Regions from separate parts of the Homo sapiens genome. Here all the other regions are linked to region 4. The links are contacts of gene promoters, found by promoter capture Hi-C in human tissues and cell types (Jung and others, 2019). All regions are on one chromosome and are shown on one strand. The core of a region is centred on a gene start or on the middle of the fragment in contact, and the rest is flanking DNA. Distances in the headings are between cores, read along the strand shown. Region 1 overlaps ASTN2 (astrotactin 2). Region 2 overlaps ASTN2 (astrotactin 2). Region 3 overlaps ASTN2 (astrotactin 2). Region 4 holds the start of PAPPA-AS1 (PAPPA antisense RNA 1).

Region 1 (2,700 bases), core at 79-2,578, 180 kb after region 4:
TGTATTATAAACTTTGAAGAGAATGAGGGAAGGGTCCAAGGATTCTCCTTTGCAGCTTTCCTAGAAAACCATGTATCTTCCCCATGAAAGGAAGAATACAAATAATGATGGTCAAATTTACTGAATGCCTATTATGTGCCACATACTAATGTCCATAGTTAAGAGTCAAACTAAGACCCAAAGCCAAAAGAAAGTATTGTACCCAAGGCCACATAACTAGTAAGTGATGTAACTGAGACTTCAGATATCAAACTAACTCCAAGCCTGTGCTGAACACCGTTCTCTTCATCTACCCAGCCACTTTTTGTTGTTATTGTACCTTTGTTTGTTTATTCTTCCATTCACTCATGCTACCAATGTTCCCTAAGTACTTTCTCTGTGCACGAAACTGTGTAAACACCAGTAAGCATGAGAAAAGATCTATCAGGAAGTTCACAGTTGAGCAAAAGAAACAAGAAACCGTGATCAGGAGGTTTAGAAAAGTTATCTTTCTTTCCAAAGCACCATTCTGATTATGTTTACGATCCTCAAAAGGCTTCAAAGGTTCCCCTTTTCCTACAGGATAAAGTCCAAGTAGCTTAGCCTGTTTTCTTATCCCTCTGAGATCTGGTCCCTGTCTTGTCTCCTCTCGACATCATTCATTCAACATTTGTTAAGTGCTGACTATGTGCCAGACACTGTACCAGAGTCTTGGAATGCAATGCTGAGTGGCACAGACTTAGGCCCTGCTCTCCTGGAGCTTGCAGATATTAATCAAATTATCACACTGATACAGAATTAGGCAATCCTTTAAACTTCCAGTGGTCCAGCCCCACTTGATTCAGGATCCTTCCTTCCAGCAGAGGTTCCCAGCCCAGGAAGTACATAGTCATGCAGTTCTCCTTGGACTCTTTAGATAACCAGTTGATCTTTAATAAAGTGATTTGTCTAATTAATCAACCAGGAACATCTGCTTCTGAAGAGAGAACTTTTCTTGGATCCCATGAATAAATGTTTATTTTATTTTAACATAGTTTTTCAACAACAGGTTAAAATTGCTGGCTACACACTACTATGGAATGCCATGATCTCCCTCCAGAGGAGTCTCTGCTTAAAGTTAATTGCTTATTACTTATGTTCCCAATTTAATCCTAAATTTCAAGAAGGCAGAGTTTTTGCCTATTCTTGCTCATCATCGAATACCCAGCACTTTGCCCAGTGCTAGGCACGCTGTTCTGTACATGTGCTGGTTAGGCATCCTTAACTACATAAAGCCTTAATTCAAAATGAGACTGTGGCAGACATAGATCCTTACCTTAAAAAAAAAAAAAAGTTTTCAGAAGGTGAAACAGAGCCTGAGAGGAAAAGCAACTTTCCAAAAGCCACAGAGAAAGTTGATAGCTTAATTGAAGTTGGAACCAAAGAGAACCAGAAGTCCTGAACTCCTGCTATACCACACCCACTCACACACCTTGAGTCTGAAATGGCAAGGAGGACAGGTCCTCAAAGCAAAAAGGTGCATAACTCGAGGCAGACAGTCTCCCATCCCAAGCTTCTGTTGTACATGAATTTACATCAGAGAGTCACTGAGCCGACTCTTTTAGATGTAGAAGAGACCATCTTCATGGGAGAAACTCTTGCCTGCCCCCAAACAAGACCTCTGACTGAGGAATATATTCAATCACTCCCTCTAACCCAAACTCCCCAAAACACTATTTCCTATTATGTCTCCATAACCAAATTCAACCCACCCAAATCTCAAGATTAGATCTGTGAGCTCACAAAGGCCTAATCACCCAATTAAGAGGAGGAAAACCTGATCCTTTCTAAACAAAGTGAAATGTGAGGTAACCCAGTTGCTGAGATTAAGTCTCACTCAGGAAGAAGCAAAGGAGCTAGGAGAGAATGGGTGGGTCATTCATTAAACGGAATTTTCCAGGAAATTTGAGTGATGTGTCTCCCCAGATCTCAGTGTTCCAGGCCCCAGAACAATGCTGGAGGCAAGGCCCTGGCTTTAGGAGGACCATGGGGGTGAAGACAGCATTACTCTCCTTGCCCGAAATCCCTAGGTACTATCTGGGGCATTCTGATCTCTCACTGGACAAATGGCCTGCTATCAATGATGAACTTTATACTCAGGCCCAAAAAATTCCAAGAGAAAAGTGCTTAGAAAGATAAACTATAGCCCACTACCATCATTTCAATAGACTCAGAAAATTCAACATCCATTTCAAATGGAAACAAAACAAAGCTTTTGCAGCAAACTAGAAATAGAAGATACCTCCTTCCATGTAATAAAGGGCATATACCATAAAAAAATACAACTAGCATTATACTTAATGGTGAAAGACTAAACGTCTAAAATTAGAAAAAAGGCAAAGATGTCTGTTCTTACCACTTCTGTTCATATAGTACTAAAAGTCCTAGCTACAGCAATTAGACAAGTAATAAATAAATAAAAGTCATCCAAATTGGAAAGGAAGAAGTATAATTGTCTCTGTTTGCAGATGACATGATCATACATATAGAACACTTTAGGAAGAACTGAGTTTTCCAACACTGGAGGCATGTTACCAGTGCATGTTCAAGGGCATACAAAAATGTTAAAGAGAAAGCAAGACTAGATGATCTCTTAAGATCCTTCCAACTCTGATACAGAAGAGGTACTCCAAGACAAAGAATGGAGTATGCCAAATAAACGGTAGAGAGAATGAGTGAGTG
Region 2 (2,700 bases), core at 163-2,662, 160 kb after region 4:
CTTACTTATTTAAAACTAGACAGCCCTTTCCCTCATCTAGCATAGTTGTCTTTTTTTCTGCTTTTCTTTTTCTTCTGTATCAATTATCAACATCTGATAAAATATTTATTTTGTACTTTTTTCCTTTTCCTGTCTCCCTTTCCTTCTAGAATCATCTTTTAGAGCTGAGTGAATGGTGTCTCTGGATTGCATCTGCAACCTGACGTTCCAGAATGCTGGCTCCATGAAGACAAGGAGTTTTCTCTCTTTGGTTAACTGCTGATACCAGTGCCTGGTACATAGTAAGAACTCAATAGATATTTGTTGAATAACTGAATTGGTAAGCAGATAAAAAGCATGGGAGATTTTAAGGACAAAGAAGAGAGGTAGAGGACAAGCATTTATATACCATAAACTCTTTGCAAAGCACATGGATTACAGAACTAGTTTAAGATTGATATTTTGTCTATTTTACAGTTGAGTAAGTGGAAGCTCAGAATGGTAAAGTGACTAACCCAGTGCCACACATCAAATAAGTAGAGAAGTCCAGAGTCGAACCTAAACCTGATTCAAATAGTTAAAATGACATAGGCCTGATTAACTTTTAGTGATCTCAGGTGGCTCTTTGGGTCTTGCTCTTCCATGTTAATGCACTTCTCCCCTGAACTAAACATGTAGCTTTCTGAGGTGGCCCAAAGTGCATGGAACTGATTGCCTCCCAGTCATGGGATGGATAAATGATGGCATGGCAACCCTTGGGGCTGGAGATGACTCAGCAGACCAGAGCTGGAAAAAGAGCCCACCTCTCCCCACCCTAAACATCTCATTCATTCTCTAATGTCAGGTGCCTTGCTACCCCCATGCTGGGACAGTTAATAGCTCACCCAATAAACGGGTGTGTAACAAAGTCTACTGCAAGGCCATCGTTACTTGCAGTATCAAGTAATGATACTTGCATCAACTTTGGCTGATCTCTGTGCTGGCCACATGATTAATTCCAACTGGTTGTTGTCCCCTGCCTGGGGTCATTCAGAAATCCTTCACTTCTTGGCTGATAGTCTACAGATTCCCAGTGCTTGTGAAAGGATTCGAGAGTTTTCTTCCTCCCTCCCATTCTTCTTTCCTTCATTACTTCATTTATTTATTTTTTCATATAGTCATATATAGATCTAGTTATTCATTCATTCATGGATTCATTTATTCATTAATTAATTTACTCAAATATTTCTATGATACTAATTTATAATCTGTATTCATTCATAAATGCATACACAGATTCAGTTTCTTAATCAACTCAGGTATTGTAAGGGATATGATGAGAGTTATCTCATCTTGGAGAAATCACTTAACTCCTCTAAGCATCATTGTCCAATTGAAGGAGGTAGACTTAGAGTACAAACCTAAGCCAGCTAGAACCAAACGCCTCATTCAACTCAATAATTCCTTGAGTTTAAGATATGTAAGACACAACACTGCCTTACAATATTTTCTAGTCTATTTCATATATTTTCCATCCCAACCTAGTGTGATTCATATGTTTTCCATCCCAACCTAGTATACACATGCATGTATATATGACTGAAATGCAAGCTTTATGAAAAAATCCTTAGGCTTGCCACAAACACACACACACACACACACACACACACACACACACACACACATATGCCCCATACTGAGGAGATTAACAAGTAAACAAATACATTCAGGATAATGTATGTATAATACATTCAGGATAATGTTTTTAAGACACTGTTTCTCTCTCTCTCTCTCTCTCTCTCTCTCTCTCTCTCCATATATATATATATATATATATATATATATATATATATATATTTATTTATTTATTTTGAGACAGTGTCTCACTTCATCACCCAGGCTGGAGTGCAGTAGTGTGATATCGGCTCACTGCAACCTCCAGTCACACCCTTCCCTCCACCTGCCCACCCATTCCCACCCCGGACCCCAAGCTCAAGTGATCTTCCCACCTCAGCCTCAGTCTCCTGAGTAACTGGGACCATGGGCACACACCACCATGTGGCCTGGCTATTTTTTTGTTTGTATTTTTAGCAGAGACAGGGTCTCGCCATGTTGTCCAGGCTGGTCTTGAACTCCTGGACTCAAGAGATCCACCTGTCTCAGCCTCCCAAAGGGCTGGGATTACAGGCATGAGCCACCACACTCAGCCTACATCCTATTTTCTTTTTTTAAATGTTGGCTCCAATCCAATAAGTTGACTTTACAACCTACTAATGGATTATGACCTGAAGTTAGAAAACTATGGTGTAGAAGATCTAGAGAGAGACCTTCGATTACAAGTACATATAACACAAGCTGGATACTTGGATACTGTTTTAGACTCTTCACTCATCTTCCACATCCAGCAGCCTTCTACATGTGTAAGCTCTGTCTCTTACATAGCCCTCCAGTCCATCCTCCAAGCTGCAGCCAGTGATCATTCTAAAATATGCCTCTGATGGAAAGTCTGTAATAGTCTTCACTTGTCTACACTATAAAAGAAAAAAACAATAAATGCATCTAATTCCTTAGTCTTGTCTGGCCTTGATTTCTCCTCCAGGGTCATTTCTCACTAATTCTGCTTTTGTATCTCATGTTGAATCAATGTTGAGTCATGCACAAGTCCTTGAATCTTTCATGTTCTTTCATATGTTGGGCCTTTGCTTTTGAAGATTTTTCTGCCTGGAATTCCCATTTCACCCA
Region 3 (2,700 bases), core at 171-2,670, 140 kb after region 4:
CTGTGGTCAAAATGTGTTCACCACGGCAGACAACTGCTTGGGTGACAGCTTTGGCCTCTGGATGAATTCTCCTTGGCGAGCAATCGTCCCACCTGTAGGTGCCTTCATGATCGTCTGTGTGCAGGGCACCAAGCAGGCCATCTAAAGCCACTAATCTCAAAGAGAGCTTACCCAGGGACAGGACTTTCCAAAAGGAAAGGAGCACAATAGAAGAGAATGGCTGCTGCTAAGTTCCATCCAACAGGTGAATTTAGTGGATTTTAAAATTCCTTTTTAGTTGCTGGTCTTCATAAGAGATTATTTTTGTCTAAAATGCAAGCACCCATTTTTATCTTGCAGTCTCCAAAATAATTGAGAAATTGGAAATGCCTAAATGTCCAGCACTAAATAAATGATTAATAATATTTGAGATACCCATATTATGAAACAGTATATGAACATGAAAATTTTTACAAAAGTTTTTCCCCTAGTTTTGAAACTAGGGGAAAAAGTTTGAATGCCACATCTAATGAAAAAAAAAAGCAGAAAAAAATATACATGACATTCTCCACTATATAAGGAATGGACATTGAGGAAAGAAATATGCCAAAATTATGATATTATTAGGCTGGTATAGTTGTAACTTACTCATGTTTCTGCATTCCCATTCTATAATAAATGTGTCATACTCTTTTCTATCATAAAATTAATTTTACACAATTTTAAACATTTTTCTTATAACAGAAAATAAAATGTGATCATAGTAGGAAATTTAGGCGGGAAAGAGAAAATATAAATCTGCCAGATCTAACACAAAGAAAATAACTGATAATATAACATTTTGGTATATACTCTTATAGTCATTTTTTCTTGAACAGATGGACAATACAGAGAGTGAGAAAGGGTCTATAATCTTATGAGCCACTGCAAGTTCTACCCAACCTATAATGAGAGCAGGCCCCAACACATGGAACACTGGGCCCTTGTTGCCATGGTTTTCCTAGTTAACTCTATTGCTTTAATCATAGTTAATTGGACTGAGAGTAAAAACTTAACCCAAGGTGATCCACTCACATTTATTGCCCAGGAATTACAGCTGATAGTACTAAGGTACCAGGAAGATAGGCAGTGGATGAAACACTGCACCAGATTGGGGAAGTGACTCTAACCATGGGCAGATGGAAGCAGAGACAGAACAAGGCAAGAGCTGATGGGCCCTCCAAAGACTGAGAGAATAGCACATGTGGTGTCTAATAACTTCTCAGATTCTGTGTCTTCTTGATTTATAAGATTTCCCCTTCAGCTCTCAATAAAGACATCCACATCCCTAAAACCAGAAGTGCTTTAATTATATACCATTTTAAATTAAATTTTTAAATTTTAAGATAATTGTAGATTCATATGCAGTTATAAGAAATAATAGAGAGAGACCTTGTGTACTCTTTACCCAGTTTTCTCCTGTGGTAACATCTTGCAAACCTATAATTCAATATCACAGCCAGGATACTGGTATCGACACAGTCAAGAAACAGAACATTTTCATTACCACAATTATTTCTCATGATTTTTTTTATAGTCACACTACTTTCCTCTTGCTCCTGCTCCACATACTATTTTGTAAAATGTTTTCTGCAATAGTAATATTTAAATGACTGTCTTTTATTTCCTTTTTATTAAACATTATTTAACTGAACCCTAATAAACACCCTTACATGTAAATCTTTTATAAATAACTTTTCTTAGAATAAGCAAATTCTCTTGATACATATTGCTAATTTGCCTTCAAGAAAGTTTGACAAATTTACATTAGCACCAACAAAATATTTTTAATGAAATAAAAAGGTAACATAAACTTTTAGTGGTTTATAAGATCTTCTGAGATCCATCATTTACAAGGGTGCCTAATAAATTCTGCCACTTCAATTGAGCAAGTTGTTTTAAAATCAGATCAGTTCAAGTTAATATGTTTATTACTTTTGGTCAAAGATCATTGCAAGGGTATTAGAAAAAAATATAAATTCAATGTTAACTTTAAAAACAACTTAGAAAAACCTGAACAAAGCCAAGTTATATATATTCTGGGAAAAAAATAGATTACATTTTGGAGTTACAAAAGAGAATCATCAGTCCCATCCATCAAAATGTTGTTTTAAGACTATTATTTTTGGCTGGGTGTGGTGGCTCATACCTGTAATCCCAGCACTTCTGGAGGCTGAAGTGGGCTGATCACCTGAGCTCAGGAGTTCAAGACCAGCCTGGGCAACATGGAGAAGCCCTTCCAAAAATACAAAAAGTAGCTGGGCATGGTGGCAGGTGCCTGTAATCCTCCCAGCTACTTGAGGGGCTGAGGCAGGAGGATTGCTTCAGCCTGGGAGGCAGAGATTGCAGTGAGCTGAGATTGTGCCACTGCACTACAGCCTGGGTGACAGAGCAAAACTCTATCTCAAAAAAACAAAACAAAACAAAAGACTATTATTTTTGGTATAAGCTTGATGTTCACCTTTGGAATCATCCAGCTGAAAAAAAAATCATATAGTATCTTGTTGGACAGAAATATTTTTGGAACTCTCTTTTAAATTGATTATAACCTCTACTAGATAAGCACCCTAAAGACCATCCGGCACATTTTTTGGTTGGTTGGTTGTTTTTGCATGCATAGAAAAAATTGAAAGAAAATGAAGAGAGTTCTTCATAATCACAGGTATAGAGATTATAGCATAA
Region 4 (2,700 bases), core at 180-2,679:
CTAAGCAAAGATTCCTGGAGGCTGACTTGTATCTTCAGACTCACAGAGTGAATTCAGCTCTTCTGAATCAAGACCCACCCAGTCTCTTTCATTCAGACCTGTTGCTAACAAATTTATATTTGCCAAGGATATTAGGCAAAAGAGGCTACTTGATTGGTGGCCAACCTCGTGCCCACATGGAAGGTATCTTTAATAGGGTCTTTTCAAACCTTAGTGGAGGAGGGTCAGCTCAATTTGGGCAATGCATTTGTTCCCAGTTTCATTTTCTTCCTGGGAATTAACTCGTCATTTCATTCCTTCAGTCATCTTCTGTGTAGGTGACCGGAGCACTGAGAGGCAGCTCTGATGCACTATTGTGTGTCAGCAGCTCAAAGGCCCTAAAACACTGAAGGTTCTGCATCTGAAGTATTAGATTGTTAGCAGCAAAATATGAAAGATGAGGTGGACAGTCCTCTAAGCCCTATTTAGGGAAGCTTTTCCAAGCCACAATCTTAACTACCTACCCAAAGGATTTGCATTACCCCCAGATTCTGTGCCAACAACCTTTTAAGGAAATACAGTCCTTGGGAAATGAGTTTTGATGGTGAATTGGGGTGTTAAGGAAGGGAAAGATTGTCATAGATGGTAGGGCTTTGAAAATGCAGGGTATCAGCTGCCACTCCTGGCTTCAACACATTGAGTCACTGCCTAGACGGTTCTCTTGGTCTTATTCCCATCCTGGCCAATGCTTAAATACTATTTGTTGAAAATAATTCTTTGAGACAGATTTCAGCTACCTCCCTTCCAGGTTCGATTTAACTTGGTTGTAATTGTCAATTTGTTGTTATAGGTCTTACCTGTGTGAAAGAAAGAAAAAGAAAGAAAGAAAGAAAGAGAAAGGAAATTATAAGGTCAAGTTAACAGTTTTGAGGTTTTGTGTTTTTTTCTGGAACTACTTCAAGTGAGAAAATAAAAAAAAATGGTGACAAAGCTGTACAGATAGAGATAATAGAAGACAAAGAGATTAAAAGGAAATAAAAATGCATGATTAAAAACTAAGAATAAAAAACCTATTTTTATGTTTCCTAAAGGAAATTGTTTATTCTACAGCCTCAGTAGGTAGACACAAACATAAAGATTTCCCTAGAAGACATAGAGTGGGATTTGATAACACTGTCTGTTATTTTCTGTACATTGTGGTAGGTCCAGGAAATATGACATTTTCCCCCTTGATGTGTTATTGTTGTTGTTGGGTGGGGTGGGCATTTTGTTTATTTGTTTGGTGGCAATCAGTGGTAGTAGGGAGTGGGAGGGCTTATATTGGTTTTTCCAGCTATTAAGGGGACATATTGTGTCGTTGTGCTTTTCACGTTATAAAATGTTTATATTTACCAGTACAGCACTGGGCTTTATAAAGACTGCACTCAGAACCACACTGCACAGTCCAGTTTTTTAAAAAGCTGCTACATGACAGACAGGTAATCCCACTGAGTGAGTTTTGAGAAACAAATCAAACGAAGTAAACAAGAAACATAAAAACCAAATAGCAAATGAATAAAAGCCTGTTCTTGTAACTTATTCAACTTTTGCCAAATTCCTACCAATCACTTGCTTTTTAAAAGAAATGTATAATAGCCAAAAGAGAAATTATGTCCCTGTTGTACAGAAGTTAGAATTTTTGACTCCAGGCAGCAGTTTGCTCAGTGATCTTGAACAAGTTATCCAATTGCCTCTACATTTGCATCAGTTTCTCTAGCTGCAAAATGGGGATAATACTATATACCTACCTCACAGTGGGAGGGCAGGAGATTTTGAGGCCCTGAGGTTTTAGGTGGGCTGTGAGGGCCAACGCTTGACACAAAGTCCATGGGTTATTATTCAAGAATGCACAGGCCCATCGGCCTTTTAGAAAGACAAGACAGGGAGTGCTTGTTTGATATTTCAAGGAATAAAGCCGGAGCTCCTGAATTGTAGTCCACCTTAAAAGAGAGACCTGTATTGGAGAATATTTTATTTTTTTGGCAAATTTGATCTTACCCTTTACCAGTTCTATAATTTGGTTAAAAGCTGATTATGTCCTACAATGTCAAAGTCAGCTAACTGTCGTCTACTTAAGACTTCTGGTCATTTCCAACTTATAGAGGAAGGGAGTCTCTAAAATCTCTTCTTCAGAAGGCACCTCACTTCTCAGACTTAAAATTCCACATCAAGTGTTCCATTAAAAGAAGATAAGGCATTCTGAGTGCAAACAAATGGGGGCTTCTTAAACTACACACCAGCAGTCAGTGAGGAAAACTTTGAACAATTATTGAGTTGCTTTCTTGGGTCTCTATAATCAATAACCTGTCTGCAGATATCTATCTATATAAAGATATTATATATAAATATAAATTTACATATATATGCACATGTATATATAGTTGTACATATATGTGTGTATATATATACTTAAATGTAATATTTACAAAATAAAACTGTGATCTCGTCTAGAGAAAATGTATTCATATTACAAACTGCTCTTCCATATTTATGTACCATATTATACCTTTTTATTATTGTTATAATTATTATGGGTATTTCTAATTAATATGATGTTGAAACCTGTTTGGCACCTTCTGGAAGCTACCAAAAAAATGACACTCCATTGAAGTGCTTAAAAGCTGTTCTCATAAGAATTCTTCTGGCCTATTGTAAAAAAGAAAAAAAAAAAGAAAAAGAAGA

Evidence for each region. The method cuts DNA at HindIII sites, captures the fragments that hold promoters and counts their contacts. A contact is called where the count stands out against the background at its distance.
Region 1: a fragment that was not itself captured here is called in contact with the fragment with the promoter of PAPPA-AS1 in region 4 in 1 of the 25 tissues and cell types used here (IMR-90 fibroblasts).
Region 2: a contact is called between a fragment that was not itself captured here and the fragment with the promoter of PAPPA-AS1 in region 4, in 2 of the 25 tissues and cell types used here (H1 embryonic stem cells and IMR-90 fibroblasts).
Region 3: a contact is called between a fragment that was not itself captured here and the fragment with the promoter of PAPPA-AS1 in region 4, in 1 of the 25 tissues and cell types used here (H1 embryonic stem cells).

Annotation. Positions count from the first base shown.
Region 1 is chr9:116,582,283-116,584,982 of GRCh38, forward strand. All of the region lies in intron 19 of ASTN2 (astrotactin 2), which reads right to left. Among named protein-coding and RNA genes, the nearest start is that of ASTN2-AS1, 79 kb to the left of the region's middle. The HindIII fragment of the contact is 4,873 bases long and covers 1-2,700 here.
Region 2 is chr9:116,563,616-116,566,315 of GRCh38, forward strand. The region is part of intron 19 of ASTN2 (astrotactin 2); the gene reads right to left. Among named protein-coding and RNA genes, the nearest start is that of ASTN2-AS1, 61 kb to the left of the region's middle. The HindIII fragment of the contact is 4,002 bases long and covers 1-2,700 here.
Region 3 is chr9:116,540,496-116,543,195 of GRCh38, forward strand. The region is part of intron 19 of ASTN2 (astrotactin 2); the gene reads right to left. It overlaps ASTN2-AS1 (ASTN2 antisense RNA 1), which reads left to right. Exons shown (of 12, transcript NR_033973.1): 2 at 1-244. Among named protein-coding and RNA genes, the nearest start is that of ASTN2-AS1, 38 kb to the left of the region's middle. RefSeq lists an enhancer at 1-209. The HindIII fragment of the contact is 4,711 bases long and covers 1-2,700 here.
Region 4 is chr9:116,399,177-116,401,876 of GRCh38, forward strand. PAPPA-AS1 (PAPPA antisense RNA 1) reads right to left here and starts at 1,430. Exons shown (of 1, transcript NR_103711.1): 1 at 1-1,430. PAPPA (pappalysin 1) reads left to right here. Exons shown (of 22, transcript NM_002581.5): 22 at 1-2,700. The HindIII fragment of the contact is 20,173 bases long and covers 1-2,700 here.